3 separate regions of the Homo sapiens genome follow, and regions 1 and 3 are each linked to region 2. Evidence: promoter capture Hi-C in human tissues and cell types (Jung and others, 2019). All regions are on one chromosome and are shown on one strand. The core of a region is centred on a gene start or on the middle of the fragment in contact, and the rest is flanking DNA. Distances in the headings are between cores, read along the strand shown. Region 1 has its middle 2.9 kb from the start of TLR10. Region 2 holds the start of PDS5A (PDS5 cohesin associated factor A). Region 3 has its middle 2.1 kb from the start of TLR1.

The links. The method cuts DNA at HindIII sites, captures the fragments that hold promoters and counts their contacts. A contact is called where the count stands out against the background at its distance.
Region 1: a contact is called between a fragment that was not itself captured here and the fragment with the promoter of PDS5A in region 2, in 1 of the 25 tissues and cell types used here (lymphoblastoid cells).
Region 3: a contact is called between a fragment that was not itself captured here and the fragment with the promoter of PDS5A in region 2, in 1 of the 25 tissues and cell types used here (spleen).

Annotation. Positions count from the first base shown.
Region 1 is chr4:38,784,490-38,787,305 of GRCh38, reverse strand. No RefSeq gene overlaps it. Among named protein-coding and RNA genes, the nearest start is that of TLR10, 2.9 kb to the right of the region's middle. The HindIII fragment of the contact is 4,349 bases long and covers 1-2,816 here.
Region 2 is chr4:39,976,143-39,979,332 of GRCh38, reverse strand. It overlaps PDS5A (PDS5 cohesin associated factor A), which reads left to right and starts at 1,422. Exons shown (of 33, transcript NM_001100399.2): 1 at 1,422-1,876; 2 at 2,716-2,893. The coding sequence starts at 2,756. RefSeq lists silencers at 1,198-1,837, 1,888-2,637 and an enhancer at 2,175-3,083. The HindIII fragment of the contact is 8,894 bases long and covers 1-3,190 here.
Region 3 is chr4:38,805,468-38,808,240 of GRCh38, reverse strand. It overlaps a transcript of TLR1 not described here. Among named protein-coding and RNA genes, the nearest start is that of TLR1, 2.1 kb to the right of the region's middle. RefSeq lists an enhancer at 2,450-2,619. The HindIII fragment of the contact is 5,621 bases long and covers 1-2,773 here.

The DNA.
Region 1 (2,816 bases), core at 208-2,707, 1.2 Mb after region 2:
TGTATTTTCAGTAGAGACAGGGTTTCACCATGTTGGCCAGGCTGGTCTCAAACTCCTGACCTCAGGTGATCCACCCACCTCGGCCTCCCAAAGTGCTGGGATTACAGGCATGAGCCGCTGTGCCCGGCCAGGATCATTTTATTTGTTTGAACTAAAATGTTCTCCTTATACTCAAATGTAGTAAATGAATGACAAATGATTTAAATTTTCTAACCATGTGAGAATTTTATTACTTTTCATTTATTTTTCAGAAATAGGATTCAGAAAAAAAAAAAGTTGTTACTATTTTCACTTACTGATACCAGTAATTAAAGTAAAGGAGCTTTCCCCAGCTAACACGTGCTCCACACTAGACCCTGAACCACCCGCAGTGCTCTTAGGGAGAATGCAAGCCCAGGCCCTTTCTTCTACCCGTGAGCAGCTCTAGGTCATGTAACTTTCCTACCTGCCTGGATCAGGGACCAAGGCCCTCTTAAAGGCAAGAACTATAAAAATAGACTGGGTGCGGTGGCTCATACCTGTAATCCCAGCACTTTGGGAGGCCGAGGTGAGTGGGTCACCTGAGGTCAGGAGTTCAAGACCAGCCTGGCCAAGATGGCAAACCCCATCTCTACTAAAAATACAAAACTTAGTCGAGCATGGTGGCACATGCCTGTGATCCCAGCTATTTGGGAGGCTGAGGCAGGAGAATCACTTGAACCCAGGAGGAGGAGGTTGCAGTGAGCTGAGATCATGCCACTGCACTCCAGCCTGGGCAGCAGAGCAAGACTCTATCTCAAAATAATAATAAAAATAAAATAAGCTAGCCGCCTGTAAGGTGGTCATGAATCCTCTGCCCAATAGAGACGCTCCATCTTGCATAGTGAGGCAAAGATCTGATCAGATTTCCCTTCTTGGGGGAAGTATTCTCAGAGCGGGCCTCAGCCCTTGACTGTAAGCCATGAGCCTGGGAAAAGGCTGTAGGAAGACACATATAGAAGCAAAGGCAGCAATAAAGAGAAGTGGGGAATAGAAAGAGAAGCAGATTGAGGAAGAGTCAAAGAGAAGTCAAGTCATAGCTAAAGTGGAGAGCAGCCCAACCAGACAGCCTGACCACCACGGCTGCTCTGGGAGTCCCCAGAAGCCACTGCTCCAGGTCTCTAGAGGGCCTGGCTGTGCTGCTGTGTTTCCTTACAGCCTCTAGTGTCTTTAAAATAAACCTCCATCCCCTTGTGGTAACCCAAGGTTCTCTGTTCATTGCAACATATATGAAGGCAGAATCACAGCTGGCCCACGTCTGGTATCAGAGGAAGACATAGGAGGGAAATGTGTGTTTGTGTGTTTGTGTGTGTGCGTGCGTGTGTGTGCGCGTGCCTGCGTGCATGCATGTGTGTAGGGGCAGGGGGAAGTTTTTTAAAAAGGAATAAAAATATTACATCTTAAAGTTATCAGCACATATGGTTCTGAGCATACTATTCTTGGTTGCTAGTTGTGAATAAAGATTTAAACGTTTTAGAAATCTCAGGTGAAGGCAGAGAGAGTATTACATAACCTCTTGGGCATCTGGAGTCGTGAAAAAATTGTGGGCTTTGGAACCAGACTTACTTAGTTTTGAATCTTGGCTCCCTCCCCTATTGGATGATGACCTTGTGCAAGTTTTTTGTTCTCTCTCAACCAGTTTTTCCATCTGGCGAATGGGAATAAAGTATATGTTCTATGTAGTTTGTGGTGGTGATTAGCCAATATCTTGTGTGCAATACTATCTGCACTTAGGAAGTAAATGCAAGCTTAATGATGATGATTAGATGACACAAGCAACAACTCTACTTGGCTCAACTTGTTTTTGGTAAACAAATGTAAAAACACTTAAAGAAAACTTCTCCGTTTTCTGACAATAAAGTATTTAAACATGTTGGTCTCTGGGGAAAGGAAGAATATGTCTTTGGACAACAAAAACCCCAAGTGATTATTTTTCCTTGAGAGGGCAATATACAGTGTGAGTGTGCTGATCATAGTAATTTGAGAATTTCTGAAATGAAAAAGATTTTAGAGCTTAGTTCATCCAACAAGCTGGGAATCCCCTCTCCAACGTTCCTGACGGGTGTTCCTGTCTTCCTACGTTTGTGTAATATAGACATGTTTGTATATGTTTAGGTGAGGAGCAGAGCTGGTTTTGTTTTGCTGTTGTTTTTCTTTTTACAGTTATTTATATTTTGTGTGATTTCCCCCTACAATATATGTGGAAATACATGGACTACATTTTAAATTTAAAAACCCCAATATGATAGTTAAAAAATGTATTTTAAGAACCCACCCACTCCCCAATTTTATAAGACATAAATCTATTATAATCATTCATGTTTAAATTGATCATTCCTCCTGTAGACAAATCCATCTGGAAATTTTCTTCTTTACTCGTGATCTCCAGCAGTCACCTAAATCTTAAGTCAAGTATGAAAAAAACCTCAAAAATGTTGCTTTAAAAATTGATCCGTACTTTGCGATCTACATTTTAAAAAATACCATGCTTATTTTACCACTTCACTTCAAGAAAAGGCCTCTAGGTCAGAGGTCTCCAATCTTTTTGGCACCAGGACCAATTTCATGGAAGACAGTTTTTCCACAGACCGGGTTTGGAGATGGAGGAGAGATGGTTTCGGGATGATTCAAGCACATTACATTTATTGTGCACTTTATTTCTATTATTATGACATTGTAATATATAATGAAATAATTATACAACTCACCATAATGTAGAATCAGTGGAAGCCCTGAGCCTGTTTTCCTGCAACTAGATGGTCCCATCTGACATGATGGGAAGCAGTGACAGATCATCA
Region 2 (3,190 bases), core at 173-2,672:
ACAGAGTAAGATTCCGTCTCAAAAGAAAAAAATAAATATCAAAAGTGACAGGGAGAGCCTAAAAAGAGAGCAGCTTTTGGTCCACTTAATAGTTTGGATGAGGACACTTTTAAATGGATTCTGCCTGGTACTGTAAATGCCCAAGAACAAAGCATTGACTTTTGGGCAGAGTTCTAGCAAATCAGCAACTGTGGAGTGTCAGATTCGCAATGACTGCTCTTGTGTAATACGTCAAAAACAAGTCAGTGAGCTGAAATGCAGTACCTTTACTATTTTTAAGTTGACGTTAAAGGATGTGGGAAAAAAATAGACCAATGGGTACCCATCAAGAATAATTTGAATAAACAATCGAATATCATTTTAAACTATGGTAGTGGTCAGTTTCAAGAGCTGAATGTGATTTCATATTATCGTATCCTTTTTTCAACTTTCTCTTCGGAAATTTTGTGTATGCTCTTGATTTTTTTTAAATAGGTAAGTGTATGTTCTTGCGTTAATTTGTTTCAATTACATACATTAAATTGCTCAAACACTGCTGCGTGCACTGTTTTTACCTGATAGTGGTTTTCCTTTGGATGACAGAAAACGTTAATGCTTGGTAGGTTTAAAACATTTTTAAAAAATGAGCTCTTCCTTATTTACAAGAATCACCCACCCAATTAATAAATGCTTATTTCTGGGTTCCACTCTCAGAGATTTTTATGTTTATGTATATTTTTATATTTTTTAGTGTTTTATTTTATATGTTATATTTTTATATGTTTTATGTTCATATATATTTTTACGTTAAAAAAACATATATTTTTATGTTTTTTAATCTTTGGAGTTGGAAACCTACGTTTTCAGCCAGTACCCAAAGTGATTGTGAGGCCTGGTGGCCCAAAGACCATACCTTGAGAACGACTCGACCCAATGCTATTTTCATGTTTTGCAGCTTTCAAAATATTAACTTCAGAAATCTAAGGAGGGTGGGCAACTCGGGTGGCTGTCAGAAGACCCGAGAGTGAGCCGCTCACGCTGCGCCCCATTGCACAACTTTCCTTGACTTTGCAGATCTCTCCCTGAGGAGGAAATCAGTTCATTTTCACCGAGCAATTAACTACCTCCCAACCAGTTTCGTCTATGTCCCTCAGGATGACCCCCAAAAGTCACCAGCTCATCGCCGCTGCGAAAGATAAAGCACTGTTTGCCCTGCGTGCCCTCGCAAGGCCGCGGGAACCTGGGCTCGCTTCCCGCCACCCGGGCTCCTCCTCCTCTCGCCCTCTCCGGTCGGGTCCTCCGGGAGGCGCCCCGCGCGGCAGGTATTGGCGCCAACCGGGTGGCGGCGCTGTCCGCCCTGCGCGCGGCCGCCTCGGGCCCGAGGGAGGCGGATGCACGGCCGGCGGAGGAAGGGGAGGGAGCGAGGAGCGCGCGCTGCTCTCGCGTGCTCTCGCGCCGCTCGCGTGACCGGCCGGTGTGTGCGCGAGGCCCCGGCTCCCGGGGCACGGACGGCCGGGCGCGCGCCTCTGCGAGGGGCGTCCGGGTCCGAGTCGGCGGTCCGGGCCGGCGCGAGGTGCGTGCGGGCGGGCCGCGGGGGTCCCGGACGGACACAAGCGCACACACTCCCGGAGGAGCCTTCGAGGCTGCTCTTCCTCGGCCAGACGGAGAGCGGCACTGTCTCCCCGCCCAGCGCTCACTCGCCCCGCGTCTCCCCCCGCGGCGGCTGCTCCTCCTCGGCACCGCCAGCCCCAGCGCCGCTCCCGGGCGGGCGGGCGGCGGCGGCGGCGGCGGCGGGACCCGCGGAGCCGCTTTGTGTGCAGCCCGACTAGGGGCGGCGGCGCAACCACCTGACAGAGGCCCGGGCGCTCGATGCACCTTCCGCCCGCATGAGGAGGAGGTAAAGGCGGCGGCGGCTCGGCTCCCGCCCTAGGCTGCTGGAGGGAGGGGACGGAAGGGGAGACTGGAGGGGGGGGCCGCGGGTCCGAGGCCCGGTGGGGCCGCCCGAGGGTGCCGGGAAGGCCTCGGCGGTGCCGGAGGCGCCAAGCGGCCGGGGGCCAGAGAAGCAGCTGGGGTCCCTCAGCCGAAGTTGAAGGAACAAAATGTGAAGTGCGGAGGCGCGTCAGCCGCTTCCTGGCGTGGGGCTGAGGGTGGAGGGCGGCTTGTTTTCCCCTCCCGCGGGGGTGAGGGAGCGGAACAGGGGAGGGGTGGCAGCGCGGCGGGGACTACCCCGGGTCCGAGGCTCGGCTGGGCAAGGGCGTTTTGTTCCCGGCAGCCGCCGCTGCGCGTGGGTCCGCTGGGTCCCTAGTTTTGCGGCCTAAGCCGAGCCCTATAGGCCTCGGGTCTGGTTTCCCGGAGGGGACTGGCCGGGCGGGACTGGGTGCTTCCCCACCGCCGAGCGGGGGCCTTGGGGTCCTTGCCGGCCTCCCGGGGCCGCCAAACTTCGGACCCTGGTGCTCGGGGGTGGATTTCATTGTGAAAGGCGGAATGGGAAACTCCTGGCGCTGTTCGGCGGCCACGGCGGCTGGTGCGGAGGAGCCCCGTGAGCCTGGGGCTGGCAGGGCCGGGTTGGCGGGGCCGGCGGGGTTCGATCCCTGGGAAAGAGCGGGTGGCGAGGCCGCTGCCGGGTCCCCGGCCTCTGGGGAGACAGGGCCTTTTCCAGATTAGAGAGATTTGAAATGAAAAAAGAGGTTACAAAGTCGCCCCTTTCCCGCTGAACTTTGGTTTTCTGACCGATAGAGGCCGGTAGAGGACTGTGAACCAAAAGTTGTCCCCCAGGATGGACTTCACCGCGCAGCCCAAGCCTGCCACTGCCCTCTGTGGCGTCGTGAGTGCCGACGGGAAGATCGCTTACCCTCCGGGGGTAAAAGAGATCACCGACAAGATCACCACGGACGAGATGATCAAACGCCTGAAGGTAAGTGTCTGGACGGATTTTGATGTCTTTGGTAGAAGGCGCTTTCTCCTGTGATACTGCTACCCTGCTCAGTCTGGCCTTTAAAGTTCCAAGTTTTTTAGATCTCTTACCCCCTCTGAAAGGTACTGTTGTATCTCAGATAACATCTTTGAGTGAGTTTTGTAGGGATATAACCATTGTGGGAAATTTAAAAGGAGTGTGATTTTTCAAAAACTTACTGGTTTTCAAGCATAAGAATTTGTGTTTTTAGAGTTTTTTCTGGAGGTATTTAATGAGAATACTGTTCAGAGTGGCTTG
Region 3 (2,773 bases), core at 79-2,578, 1.2 Mb after region 2:
CCCTTTCTATTCCACAAAACCGCCATTGTCATCATGGCCCGTTCTCAATGAGCTGTTGGGTACACCTCCCAGACGAGGAGGTGGCCAGGCAGAGGGGCTCCTCACTTCCCAGTAGGAGCAGCCGGGCAGAGGCGCCCCTCACCTCCCGGACCGGGCGGCTGGCCGGGTGGGGGGCTGACTCCCCCACCTCCCTCCTGGACGGGGCGGCTGGCCGGGTGGGGGGCTGACCCCCCCATCTCCCTCCCGGACGGGGCGGCTGGCCGGGCAGAGGGGCTCCTCACTTCCCAGTAGGGGCGGCTGGGCAGAGGCGCCCCTCACCTCCCGGACCGGGTGGCTGGCCAGGTCGGGGGCTGACTCCCCCACCTCCCTCCTGGACGGGGCGGCTGGCCGGGCGGGGGACTGACCCCCCCACCTCCCTCCCGGATGGGGTGGCTGGCCTGGCGGGGGCTGTCCCCCACCTCCCTCCCGGACGGGGTGGCTGCCGGGCGGAGACACTCCTCACTTCCCAGACGGGGTGGCTGCCTGGCGGAGGGGCTCCTCACTTCTCAGACAGGGCAGTTGCCAGGCAGAGGGTCTCCTCACTTCTCAGACGGCGCGGCCGGGCAGAGACGCTCCTCACCTCCCAGACGGGGTCGCGGCCGGGTAGAGGCGCTCCTCACATCCCAGATGGGGTGGCAGGGCAGAGGCGCTCCCCACATCTCAGACGATGGGCGGCCGGGCAGAGGCGCTCCTCACATCCCAGACGGGGCGGCGGGGCAGAGGTGCTCCCCACATCTCAGACGATGGGCGGCCGGGCAGAGACGCTCCTCACTTCCTAGATGGGATGGCGGCCGGGAAGAGGCGCTCCTCACTTCCTAGATGGGATGGCGGCCAGGCAGAGATGCTCCTCACTTTCCAGACTGGGCAGCCAGGCAGAGGGGCTCCTCACGTCCCAGACGATGGGCGGCCAGGCAGAGACGCTCCTCACTTCCCAGACGGGGTGGCGGCCGGGCAGAGGCTGCAATCTCGGCACTTTGGGAGGCCAAGGCAGGCAGCTGGGAGGTGGAGGTTGCAGCGAGCCGAGATCACGCCACTGCACTCCAGCCTGGGCAACATTGAGCACTGAGTGAACCAGACTCCGTCTGCAATCCCGGCACCTCAGGAGGCCGAGGCTGGCGGATCACTCGCGGTTAGGAGCTGGAAACCAGCCCAGCCAACACAGCGAAACCCCGTCTCCACCAAAAAAATACAAAAACCAGTCAGGCGTGGCGGCGTGCGCCTGCAATGGCAGGCACTCCGCAGGCTGAGGCAGAGAATCAGGCAGGGAGGTTGCAGTGAGCCGAGATGGCAGCAGTACAGTCCAGCTTCGGCTCGGCATCAGAGGGAGACCGTGGAGGTAGAGGTAGAGGTAGGGGTAGGGGTAGGGGTAGGGGTAGGGGTAGGGGTAGAGGTAGGTAGAGGTAGAGGTGTAGAGGTAGAGGGGAAGTGTGTGTTTGTTGATTGATGGGTGTACATGATTACAAGTGTGTGTTTGTTCTGTGGTGACCCACTGGACAGCAGGGGGAAAAAGAGGCAGGTAGGTGCCTCCGAATTAGACACTTTATTTTATTTATTTATTTATTTATTTATTTATTTATTTATTTATTTATTTTTTGAGATAGAGTCTTGCTCTGTCACCCAGGCTAGAGTGCAGTGGTGTGATCTTGGCTCACTGCAACCTCCGCCTCTTGGGTTCAGGCGATTCTCCTGCCTCAGCCTCCTAAGTAGCTGAGATCACAGGCATGTGCCACCACGTCCGGCTAATTTTTTTTATTTTTAGTAGAGACGGGGTTTCGCCTTCTCTACTAGGCTGGTCTCAAACTCCTGACCTCAGGTGATCTGCCTGCCTCAGCCTCCCAAAGTGTTGGGATTGTAGGCATGAGCTACCATGCCCGGCCTGAATTATACACTTTAAACGGGTGTATTTTTTATCGTTTGTGAAATTTTTTATGGAAGGTGAAATTTTTTATGGTTTGTGAATTATATATCAATAAGGTTTTGTTAAAAAAAAACACAACTAACTACAGATTACATCTAATTGACAGCATATTTTTACTGCCCTGAATCCAAAAAGAAATGCCCAGGTATGGGCTAGGGGTGGGCAGAGACACACACACTTGTAATCATGTACACAACTGGGAGTAGTGGGGATGAGTCTGTGGGGAAAAACAGGAATTCAGAGTGCTGAGAAGCTTCCCTTACTGCCCTGCCCACTTCCCTCCCCTGGGCATTGCTCCCTCAGCCTGGATTCACAAAGTCAATGCCTTTGGGAGCCAGGAACTAAATTCTTAGTCAAAGACACCTCCCTCCTGTCCAGTTATGGGTCTCAGGGAGGAAATGGCAGGTGGGTGGTTTCATTCTTTCAGTTTCAGAAAATATCTGTAGACATAACATATTTCCTCTATTAAACAAATTCTGAGGTAAGGGGAAACAGAGAGAGACAGTCAGAACATTATAAGTCGAAAAGAATCTCAGCATTCTTAGTTTAGGGAAGTTGGCCTTGCTCGCTGTGTGGTAGAAAAGCTGATTACGGGAGAGAACCGTGGAGGGAAGGAAGGGAGGCAGTTTTGTCATCCCCACATCCGGTTTTGACTGGACACCATGCAGGCTGAGATCAACTTCAGAGGCAGTCAGCTGGAATCCCATAGCTTTATTTGCCCATTTATTGTGTTGTTATTTTGTTGTTGTCATTACTGGAAAAGGCAAGAGTAGAGCTATCAGAATGTCTTCCTTGAACATGCTGTCAACAAACCCC